Linked DNA regions of Homo sapiens: region 1 is linked to region 2. Evidence: promoter capture Hi-C in human tissues and cell types (Jung and others, 2019). All regions are on one chromosome and are shown on one strand. The core of a region is centred on a gene start or on the middle of the fragment in contact, and the rest is flanking DNA. Distances in the headings are between cores, read along the strand shown.

The links. The method cuts DNA at HindIII sites, captures the fragments that hold promoters and counts their contacts. A contact is called where the count stands out against the background at its distance.
Region 1: a contact is called between a fragment that was not itself captured here and the fragment with the promoter of EDNRA in region 2, in 1 of the 25 tissues and cell types used here (IMR-90 fibroblasts).

The regions. Positions count from the first base shown.
Region 1 is chr4:147,092,380-147,098,760 of GRCh38, reverse strand. It overlaps LOC105377476 (a long non-coding RNA gene), which reads right to left. Exons shown (of 3, transcript XR_939316.3): 3 at 1,462-1,940. Among named protein-coding and RNA genes, the nearest start is that of TTC29, 150 kb to the right of the region's middle. The HindIII fragment of the contact is 7,270 bases long and covers 952-6,381 here.
Region 2 is chr4:147,479,772-147,486,020 of GRCh38, reverse strand. EDNRA (endothelin receptor type A) reads right to left here and starts at 4,924. Exons shown (of 8, transcript NM_001957.4): 1 at 4,645-4,924; 2 at 1-409. The coding sequence starts at 339. RefSeq lists enhancers at 4,025-4,104, 4,135-4,234. The HindIII fragment of the contact is 3,954 bases long and covers 2,672-6,249 here.

The DNA of each region.
Region 1 (6,381 bases), core at 3,337-5,836, 390 kb after region 2:
CAAATGAAACACAACCTTGTTGTCAACTGACCAATACTTTGATTTTAGAGCTAGAAACTAGCATGAAGATTAAGGGGGTCTGGTGGTAGTAGCATCTGTAGTTGGGAGAAATCCCCTCAATAATAGAATTTTTTTTACTAAATTTTTTTAATGACTGTGCAAAAACAATTTATTTTGAGAATAAAAATATCTATGAAGTTCAAAATGCATGACAATAATACAAAAGATGAGTTGGTGGTAAATGGAGTTAAACTGGTAAAATTTCCTAGCATCATCAAGGAAATGGTATAAGCAATTATTTTATTATTTATTTATTGAATTTTTTTATTTTTCCATAAGTTATTGGGGTACAGGTGGTATTTGGTTACATGAGTAAGTTCTTTAGTGGTGATTTGTGAGATTTTGGTGCACCCATCACCTGAGCAGTATACACTGCACCATATTTGTAGTCTTTTATCTCTCGCCCCCCTCCCACTCTTCCCCCCAAGTCCCCAAAGTCCACTGTATCATTCTTATGCCTTTGCAGCTTCATAGCTTAGCTCCCACATGTCAGTGAGAACGTAGATGTTTGGTTTTCCATTCCTGAGTTACTTCACTTAGAATAATAGTCTCCAATCTCATCCAGGTCACTGAAAATGCGGTTAATTCATTCCTTTTTATGGCTGCTTAGTATTCCATCATATATATATATATATATCACAGTTTCTTTATCCACTCATTGATTGATGGACATTTGGGTTGTTTCCACAATTTTCCAGTTGTGAATTGTGCTGCTATAAACATGCGTGTGCAAGTACCTTTTAAATAATGACTTCTTTTTCTCTGGGTGGATACCCAGTAGTGGGATTGTTGGATCAAATGGCAGTTCTACTTTTCGTTCTTTAAGGAATCTGCACACTGTTTTCCACAGTGGCTGTACTAGTTTACATTCCCACCAGCAGTGTAGAAGTGTTCCCTGATGTCTGCATCCACACTGACATCTACTGTTTCTTGATTCTTTGATTATGGCCATTCTTGCAAGAGTGAGGTGGTATCACACTGTGGTTTTGATTTGCATTTCCCTGATCATTAGTGATGTTGGCATTTTCCCACATGTTTGTTGGCCATTTGTATATCTTCTTTTGAGAATTGTCTATTCATGTCCTTAGCTCACTTTTTGATGAGATTGTTTGTTTTTTTCTTAGTGATTTGTTTGAGTTCGTTGTAGATTCTGGATGTTAGTCCTTTGTCAGATGTATAGATTGTGAAGATTTTCTCCCACTCTGTGGGTCGTCTGTTTACTCTGCTGACTGTTCCTTTTGCTGTGCAAAAGCTCTTTAATTAGAGCTATTTATCTTTGTTTTTATAGCATTTGCTTTTGGGTTCTTGGTCATGAAATCCTTGCCTAAGCCAATGTCTAGAAGGGTTTTTCCAATGTTACCTTCTAGAATATTTGTAGTTTCAGGTCTTAGGTTTATGAAATATATTTACATTATTTCCTGAGCTGTCTTTTCCTTCAACTTGAAACTTCTCGCAATGGTCTGATTCATTAATGTCTTCAATTGACCACTAGATGGCAACATTGTTCTTTTATGTTGCAGCTTTGACTCCCAATAAGCAAGACAGATTTAATTTTCCAACAACCAATTTTAAAAAGTAAAAATGCAAAAGCTAGTAATTTAAATACATCACTCTGTACAATGGGAACAAGGTACAGCATATTAAATTATGATTTTTCAATTCATTTACCTAAAAAGTGTACTACACAGTATTCTATTTCTGTGCATTTTTGGATAACAGACATTTGTACCTGGTGCATTTGGAGATGGTGTGGCCTCGGCTCTTCTAGTCTTTGTGGCTACAGAGAACTGCCCAGATGTTGAAATATGTTTTCATTCAAATCATTTAACATCTCTCTTGATTTTGCAACATCCTGGAGCAGTGATTTCCAAATCTGGAAGCTAAATAAATAAATAAAATTCCAGGAACCCGTCCTCAGAGATTCTGATTTAGTAGCTCTGATGTGGGCATGGGTATCTGAGTTTTTAATAGCACCTCCATCTGCTTCTGATTATCAACAAGTTTGGAAGTGGTCTTCGTGTCCTTAATTCCTTTAGCAACAGAATCCTTCAAATAATATGAATTTTAAGTCAACTTAATTTAAAATTGCCACACTTTTTTTTTTATTTTAGCAAAATGGTCTTCATTAAAAATACTCAAATATCTCAATTACTAGAAAGTTGAATTCATTGTAAAGATAGTAGGGCTTTAACAATTGTAATTAATATTCATTCACCCTGTGTGTCTGAAAGAAAGGTGATCAGACCCACGTGTGAGTTGGGATTGATGTGATGAGAAAGATGGCTCGCACATGGGTTGCCATTCCTGTGTGTTTCTCAGAATGGGGATCCTTGCACTGGGGAGGGGTGGATTTCTGCAGGAATAATTTCAGACATTGCAGAAGGATGTGTCTCTATTGTTATTCTGTTAAATACTAGGATGTATAACATAAAATGTCATTATCATTTCGGATAATTTTGAGGGTCCCATCAGCTATGTGAAGTAGTATTTTTCTTTGTCATTTCCCATTTTCCCTCTTCTCTTTTTCTCCCTGTCACTTTCTCTTTCTCTGTGTCTGTCTCTCTCCCTTTCTCTCTCTGTCTATATATATATACACACACACACATATATACACATATGTGTTTATATACGTATATACACGCATATATACACTTATGTGTATATACACATAAGTGTATATGTATGTATATGCACTTATGTGTATATACACATATGTGTATATGTATCTATATACACATATGTGTATATACACATGTGTATATGTATGTATATACACATGTGTATATACACATGTGTATATGTATGTATATATGTGTATATGTGTGTGCATGCACTTGTGTGTATGTACACACACGTGTGTATGTGTGTGCATGCACTTGTGTGTATGTACACACGTGTGTATGTGTGTGCATGCACTTGTGTGTATGTACACACGTGTGTATGTGTGTACATACACTTGTGTGTATGTACACGTGTGTATGTGTGTACATACACTTGTGTGTATGTACACACATGTGTATGTGTGTATATACACGTATATATACATATGTGTATATGTGTGTATATACACGTATATATACATATGTGTATATGTGTGTATATACACGTATATATACGTGTATATGTGTGTATATACACGTATATATACGTGTATATGTGTATATGTGTGTATATATACACGTATATATATACGTGTATATGTGTGTATATATACACGTATATATATACGTGTATATGTGTGTATATATACACGTATATATATACGTGTATATGTGTGTATATATACACGTATATATATACGTGTATATGTGTGTATATACGTGTATATGTGTGTATATACACGTATATATACATATATACGTGTATATGTGTGTATATACACGTATATACACACATATACACGTATGTACACACATATACAGATATATATATCTAAATAAATATATATTTCTGTCATTATTTGTTCTGGATCATTATTAACTCTTTGGTTTAAGGTGATAGCTTTAGACCAATTAATCACTGTTCAAATATTATTTGCCTTGGCTCATTTGAATTAAGTGACCTCATTAGTTTTTTTTCTTTCTCTAATATTATATTTTTGTATTTAAAAATGATATGAAAATATAACGAAGACTAGTATTACAAAATAGCACTATCCTTTTCTGGTGTTAATTCATGAATGTGTATAAAGGCCCTCATAATGATAATTAAAGAGAATGGTGCTTTCTTGAATGGGTTTACAGTTAAGCTACACATAATGTTTAAACATTAAAAGCCAGTTTTATTCTCATAGAAAAAGAGTACCAGAATACCATAGCATGACTCTCCGGTTTAAAAGAGTCAAGTCTACTGATCTCCAAACTATACTTACACAGATTTTTGTTGCTAGAAGTTAAGAGTCTGGGAAAATTACTGCTTTGTCACATTCTCTTGCCTTCTTTCTTCTTGTTTCTCTAGTTTTTTAAATAAATCCTTGACTTTAAAGACAAGGAGCTTCTTATAAATTTTCTAGTTCACAAAAACCACTTCTAATTTTTAAAAGACAATTTCAAAAAAGCATGGTTAGAAAATGGAGCATGTATTGAAATGTACATTGACTTCTGAGTCAGATACACAACTTAGAGAAATTCTGTCTGGGCGGCTGCTTGATTTTCCTGTCATAGTTGGAGTCCACACTTACCACTCCCTGCATTCCAGTGATGGTCCTTGGCCATAGGAGAAGAGTAAACACAACATTCTATTTACAAGTTTTCATTTAGAGGTAGAAGTCTCTGAACCTGCCCTTGACAGCTCCCACTGAGCTGGACCAGCAGAGGGACCTGAAGCTCCGCTCATGCACCTGGGGTCAGGGATAGAAATTTGTGTGTCCAAATAAACATTTATTTTCTTAGAATTTTATTGCCTGTTTCTCCCCTTTAAAAAATGCAAGAGAATTATCTGCAGGAAAACATTCAGATTTAGATCAAAACAGAAAAATGAAGCAATGCTCTCTAGTGAGAGGGCTAAACCATACTTCTTCCCTCCTGAAAAATTGTCAGTGATTTTGATTAGCAGGAATCATTGACACTACAAATCAACCCTGTTTTAATTTTTAAAAGACACTTGAGGTGTGTTTCACAGCACATTGTGTCTGTGCAAACTAAAAAATTAAAATAAAGTAAAATTTAAAAATATTTTAAGCCCAAAAAGCAGGAAAGGGAGTACCCCTAAATTTAGAAGATGCCAGATCTTAAATACTAGAAAACCCTGTCCTGGTTTCCAAATGTTTACCCTTCTGCAAGGCTGGCCCACAGAGTACCTTCTCTCTTCAAAAGAAAATCCTGGCACCTAGAAGATTGGGCTGACAGTGAGTATTAAAATGACTTGTTTAATGAGCAGCGTGATTGAACAGGGTAGGGAATGCTGGGGAGTTTTCTCGCAAGGACTAGGTTTGGTGTTTATATTTTGTTATGTTGTGTGCTTCCACTGTCCCTTATTTTGACAAGCTATCGAAAAGTTTAAGATGAAGATGGGCAATTTAAAAAAAAAACTGATTGCTAAAAAGAACTGGTGCCTCTTCTTACCCGTCTCTAATGGAATATAGGCTGTACCACTTAAGTGAGAGAGTACTTGGCATTAATACAGCACCAAAGATTCTTGAGGTCTGTATAGTACTAATGAGCAGGGGCTGTGATAGATGTTTTATTTTTTTAAAGCATTAGGCTACCCTCCACTAAGTAAAGGCTATTTACTAAATGGTAGGCAAATTGCCGATTCTTAGGACTGGAAGGAACTGTCCTCCAGAAATCATTAACTGCATTCCACGCTTCTTCCAGGTTGGACTACATTTACAATGTTTGTGTCCTGCACTCTCTAAGATGATATTGTCTACTCTAATCTTTACTTCCTGATAGACTGGACAAATTCTGCCCCTCACCACCCAGATGATTCCATTGTTTAGGAATCTAACCTCAATTTCCCTTCCTAAATTTAAGATTATTACTTTTTTTTCTTACTAGAAAAATGGAGAACTTTTCTTTTCTTTGCCAGGACAGATATACTGACTTCTTTATGTTTTATGTTTGTCATTTTGCCTCTAAAGTTTGGACTTATTTCTCAAGGAGTTCAATCTTCTCTTTTCTGTCATTTCAAACTTTTCACCATTTCCATTTTTTTCAGGGAACAGGAAATTAAATAACTAGTAAATGTTGAATCAAAAGAAACTCAGGATGTAATATCAAAAACCATACATAGAAATATCATATAAATCTAGTATCATAAAATTTTAAATTTCATGGCTGACTAGTAGGAAGAATGTAAGTGGACAGCTTTATTCTCTTCTACTTCATAGAATTGGGCTCATCAATTTACAAAATGTCCTAGAAGCAAATAAGTGGGTGGTAAATATTCTAAAGATTCTAGCATTTATTCTTTTAAACTAAAACTTCCAGACTTTTATGGATAATATTTTATTCTTTGTGTCTTCCAGAGAAAAAGGGAGTCTATATTGTTCAAATTTACATTATCTATGTTAGAGTCATTTTCCTGAAGGCTATTTAAAGGTTGAGAAATACTGCAAATGTCTGAAAGACAAGTGTATATTTTAAAAACAGATGCATACGTGCATGGCTTTAACAGAGAAATACTAACATATATAACTAATTTTTTTTTTTTGAGACGGAGTCTCGCTCTGTCGCCCAGGCTGGAGTGCAGTGGCGCGATCTCGGCTCACTGCAAGCTCTGCCTCCTGGGTTCACGCCATTCTCCTGCCTCAGCCTCCCGAGTAGCTGGTACTACAGGCACCTGCCACCACGCCCGGCTAATTTTTTTTTGTATTTTTAG
Region 2 (6,249 bases), core at 3,675-6,174:
ATTCCTCATACATTTGTTCTGGTAAATGATCCTGAGCAGAGTTGCATTCCCCACCATTCCCACGATGAAAATAGTACAAGATATCACAGTGTTAATGTATTTGAAAGCTGAAGTAATTTTAGTCTGCTGTGGGCAATAGTTGTGCATTGAGCCATTGCTGGGTAGGACCAAATTAGTGGGTTGATGAGTGGTAACCAGGAAGCTGAGCTCTGTGCCACGAAAAGTGGTGAAATCATCCACATGATTGCTTAGATTTGTGCTGTATCTCTCAGGATTATCACTGATTACACATCCAACCAGTGCCAGCCAAAAGGATGCCCTGAGGCAAAGGGTTTCCATCTTGAGGCAAATTTGAGGAAATATCTCTTATTGCACTTGTGCTGCTTTTACACCTTCACTTTTTTTTCACCTGAAACAAAAGGAAAAATAATTTTTGTTCCAAAACCCAGTTGCCAAAAAGATCATAGTCAATGATTATTTATTGATTCAATTAAAATGCAGGATATATTTGGTGATTAGATAAGATATATGTATATCAGGTTACCCTATGACAGAGCAAAACCAGAAAAAAACTGAAGCTCTATTAGGGCAAGCTCTATCTCCTCTATGTCAGTCTCCATCTCCATCTCCATCATCTCCATCATCTCTGTCATCTCCGTCTCTGTCTCTGTCTCCATTTCCGTCTCTATAGCTATCTATCTCTGTCTCTATTTCCATCTCTAGCTCTATCTCCATCTCCCTATCTCTCTAGCTTTGTCTCTCTCACTCATCTCTATACATAGCTATACTTATATCTACATCATAATATGGATGAGGCTATGTCAGTTTTTCCTTTAAGTAGTAGTTACTTCTTTCTCTACATTCAGGCTGATAAGAACCTGAATTACAAAAATCTTCAAGAGTTGAGATACAAACATATTTTTTAATGAAAGAGAAAAGGCATTATATGCTGAGTAAAGGGTACAGGGTATTGAGGCATAAAATAAAATTATCGAATGTAAAAATTGAATCTTCTAAAATGTGTGCTGTCTTGCATATGATAAATAATGAACATAGGGATGAAGTGCAGCACAGGTAGCCATCTAAAGTGTTATGAAATGTTAATGAGAACTCTGGTTAACACCATTAACACATCTAACAATTTTAGTTTCAATTAAGAATGAAATAATTGATAAAAACATTTGTTTTGAAAACCTTGATGATTAATGTGTAAAATCTAAATTTTTTACAGGAGTTTTTTTGCTTTTTCATTTCTCAGAAATTATCATCACAATACGGTATTTGCCGATGAATGAAATGGGAGTAATGAACTTTTCCAGGCTAGTCATAGTATTTTGGTTTCCAAGGGACACCTGTCCCCATGCTATCTTTTAACCATCCTATATAGCTACATTTATTTTATGCCAGTCACTGTACTCAGTACTATATGTGCATGATGCCCTGTAATCCATACAATGGTCCTGTGGGGTAGATCCACGGTTCAATTTTGAAGATAGGGAAACAGAGGCCCAGGAGGGTGAAGCAGCTTGTCAAGGCCACAGGTGATGGGTGGCAACACTGCGATTCTAAGGCAGGTCAGTCCAACTCTGAGCCGGAGCTGTTAACCACTAAACCATCCTGTCTCTCATTCTTGTGCTTTATTTGTATGTAAAATATTTTAAAGAAGTCTCCAGAGTTTAGATGAAGCAATAGACTCAGGAGGGTGGTTAGACATTTTCAAAGACCATCTGGTGTGGTTTATTTATTTATTTATTTATTTTTAAGTCACTTGCAGAGAGCAAGTGGTCCTTCCTGTCCAGGAAGTCTAGGAGACCTTAATAAGGAATAATCAAAGATAATTAAAAATAGCTCATCCTATTTCAATATTTTATATATTTCCTTTTCTGTAGGCTTTTATGAATCTTCAAATGAAGACATAATCTGATTTATGCGGTGGTGTGTGTACGTGTCTGTGATGTATATACCCAGGTCATAATTTAATCTTAAAAAAATTGAGTCCTGGTTGGGTGTGGTGGCTCATGTCTATAATCTCAGCACTTTGGGAGGCCAAAGCAGGAGGATCACTTGAGCCCAGGAGTTTGAAACTAGCCTGGGCAACTTAGTGAGACCCTGTCTTTACAAAACATAAAAAAGATTAGACAGGCATGGTGGCGTGTGCCTGTAGTCTCAGCTACTTGGGAGGCTGAGATGGGAGAATCACTTGAGTCCAGGAGGTTAAGGCTGCAGGGAGCTATGATCGAGTCACTGCACTCCATCCTGAGCAGCAGAGTGAGACCCTGTCTCAAAAAAAAAAAAATTAAATAAATAAAAAGTAAAAAATAAAATTGAATCCTTTTTCTGAGTGTATTCAAGGTTGATGTTAACCACTTTTAGGAATTTTGACAATTATCTTGGGAAATCAGTAAAGCTTAGGTTTGGCCAATACGTGGATAAAATAAGATTTATTCAAGTTGCATAGAAAGTATAGGGTATATATAAAGTGCGAGTATTGGATACTTTTGCCTTCCCCAGAGATTTCCCCCTGAACTCTGAAATAATAATAGTATTTACATATAGTAACTTATTATATATGTATCTGTTATCTGCCTTGAGCTTTACGACTCTAGGTAGGCAGGAGCAATATCTCCATTTTACTTATAAGGAAACCAGAGTCTTGAAGAAGTATTTAGGTCAAGGTTTCAAAGCCAAGAAATGGCAGGACACATAATTTTGCTTATAGGACTTGACTCACTCTGATTAAATGGGAAAAATATCAATTTTTCAAGGCTAGAGGCAGGCCATGTATTTGTCAGCTCTGACTAGACTTAATTATAAACAGTTTGCAGTTTTTTCCTGCTTCTTATAATCTGGAGTGAGTATCTGGCCAAAAATTGATAGACCTATGAAATGACACCATTTCCATTCCAAAGGGAACACCAGGACTCCAAGAGAAAAGCTTCTTGTCATCCTCCTTTTTGGATCACAGATACAGGGGGGAGAAGAAATACTTTCATATCTTGTGCTGTTTCGTGACTAACGTCTTCCAGCTTCCCAAATGAAAGGGAACCTTCAATAACAGCTTTCTTAAAAATGAGAGAGAGAAGGCCTTTGCAGAAATGGAATGGCTCTCTGCCGGTTACAGTCGGCTGGGAACTGACCTGTGAACTGACCTGGCTACGGTGGGTACTGCTCTACTCATCAGAGGTCCTGTGGTGCTTTGAACGTTAGCATGCTGGTCTGCTTGGTTAGCTGATTATGCCAGGAGGTAAGGCCAACGCTGTGGGTTCTTAAGGCATGAGAGCCAGCTATCATTAAAACCCCCTTCCTTCCTCCTCCAACAATGACACCACTACAGAAATCATTTCTGATGACTTCTCTATCAGCTCTCCACACATGTTAAGCTGCAAAACTAAGGGATACTTGGCAAAGGCCTGTGGATGTCATATTATCATTGGCTGAAAAGTACAAAACCAAATGAAAGAAGCCCCTCAACTGCAGGTTCTTCCAAGGTGGGTCTGTAGCTCATTTCCAGGAATCTGAGTCAGGCTGTGCTTTGAATCATCACTCATAATCAGTCATAGCGCTAGTGAAGCATCTCAGGTTCAGACCTGAAGGACATGGTCTATAGATTCAGCATTCTTCCTGTTTGGAATCTGAGAGTTTGGGGAGTGCAAAAACTATTATTAAGAAAGAGGACTGAATCCTTACGCTTACACTTTAACCATTTAACATATGAGACTCTCAGGATCAAAGTTCACCTGTAATTGGTAATTTGGAAATTCAGACCTTATCAAAATGGCATGAGTTTAGAGCATTCAATTTACATGAAATGACTGCCAAGGTGTTTCTCAATTAGCTAACACATAGACAACTACAGGTGGAGGAAAAAACAAGTAAAAGTAGGAACTTTTTACAAGTTTTCTGAGGTTTTGCTCTCTGGTTAAGAAATGAGCAACTCTCCTTAGAGACAACGCCTGAGTTTAATATGCCTCCCACCCCCAACTCTATCAGGGGAAAGCCATTAGGATGATGTAAACAGAGGGTGATTATCTAGAAGCAGCCCTTGTTTTCTGCACGTGAGAAGCAACAAGTGTCCTTTAAAGGCGAGCACAGAACAAAACGCCCAGACCTCCACAGGCAGGTTTCCAAAACTAGCTACACAGGGGGTTTCCCCAAACACCTCAGTCCCTCACACCGAGTGCCCTTGGCTACCCTTGGCATACCCAGACCCAGATGTGGGGGAGGAAAAGCAAGCCAGTAAGAAAAGGCTGTGGAGCCAACTTCACAAGAAGGCGCTGGAGCAAGCCACAGAGCTTGGCGTTCCTCAAAGTTCTTGCATGCCTGGGGAAAAGGGGTCACCCAGGGAAAACTATTGGGCTTCCTCTTCCTAAAACTCCGAATCCTAAACCCTAACGTGGAGAGGTGAAGTTCCCCGAACTCTACACGTGTCCGCAGCGCACCCCTCACGGAAGGCGCCCGCCTCCCCGCGCGCCCTGGGGCAAGTGGGTGCCAGCCCCTGCTGCGACGGGTCGCCCAAGCTGCAGGGCGGTCGGGCCAGAACGTTCCCAGCTCTCGTCTTCTCCCGACCGAGGGGCCCAGGCAGCGTCTCCGCCATCCCCGCACCCGCCCCAGTCCCAGTCCCCGATAAGAAAGACTTGCACCGACCGTGGAGCTCGGCGTGCGCAGACAGCTGCCGGGTCCGCGCGGCGCCTGGGCCAGAGGAAGCCGGAGCCGGCGAGGGTGGGTGGCGCGGAGGGTGGCCGGTGTCCCGGGCTCCGGCGCGGCGGCGGCTTCGGCTGCACAGCTTCCCCGGCTTCAGAAAACCTCCTGGGCACTGCTTCTCCCGGGGAGGTCTCGCTGGGACCCCAATCCCCGGCGACGACCGGGTGGGATGGATGAAGCCTCTCCACCGCCTCTCCACAATCGTCAGACCAGCGGGATGACTGTACGCGCGCGCGAGGGCTCGCACGAAAAAGAAAACTCCGGAGGAACACGCCTCCAGTCTGTCCTCCCCGTCTCCTCCCAAAGCTCCAGACCTTCCACTCCACTCTGGGACCGCAAGAGCGTCCTAACCTTCCAGCTATCCTGGGACGCGGCCACTAAAAAGCACAAAGCTGCCGCCCCCTTCCAGGCCCTGAAGGGCAGGAGTCTTTTTTAACTATTTCCTTCCTGAAAGAAAAGGTGGGGGATGTGGAGGAGAGAGGGTAGAGTTTGACAGACAAGACTCAGAATTCCGAAAGGCCTTGCAGAGGAACCCATCCTCTTAGTGCAGGCAGATTTGATCTGTGACGGAACAACTGGACACAGAGCCAGGGCCCACGGGTGGTTTCTTCTCCGTCTTCCCTGCCGCCTTTGCTTGGCTTGCGTGCTCCCTCTTAAGCTTAGAGGCCGTTGAGGAGCCGAAGTGGACAGCAGTTTACTGGATCAGGTGGTTTGCTTCTATCTTGTCCCTTGTAGCCAGCATCCCACGGCTACAGACCTCCAGCCCAGGGCAAAGAAGGAGCCTCAGGAGAGACTATGGAAGGTTCCAGCGCGTGGCTCCGTGAAACCTCAAGAAATTCAAACAATGAAGAAGCCGACCTTACAGAAAGTGGGTCTCAACGTCTTTATCACGGCAGATACTTTATCCTAAATTGGGGGTGGGAGAGGAGATGAGGGACAAAGGCCACTGCCTGTGACATGTGAGTAAAAACTGGGGTCTCCTCAGGGAAGGCCTGCCTTGGAGTCCTTCAGTGCACTGCTAGAGTCAGCACATGGTAGAAGTGTGAGGTTGGAGCACTGGTCATGTTATATCCCATGCTGTTCCGGCTATCTGCTGCAGCTAAACAAATTACTATAAAACGTAGTGGCTTAAAATAACAACACTCATTTACTCTGCTTATCAGTCTGCAGTTTGGGCAGAGCCTGTCTGGGACAGCTCGTTTTTGCTCCATGTAGCAGGGGCTGGAGGATCCACTTCCAAGACAGTTCACTTGCTTGGTGTTGAGTGTTAGTTTTTCTCCACGTGCGTCTCTCCACAAAGACTTGTGGAGACTTGTGGTTTGGGCTTCCTCACAGCATGGTGGCGGGGATCCAAGAGTGAATGTCCCCAGAGACAGAAAGTGGAAGCTGCCAGTTTCTTAAGGGCTGGGCCCAGAAACTGGCACCGTGTCATTTCTGCTTGATTCTATTAGTCAAGCAGTCACAAATCCCAGATTGAAGGTGAGGGTATATAGAGCCCAACCCTTAGTGTGAGGAGTGTCAAAGAATTTAGGGACCATTTTGTAAAAC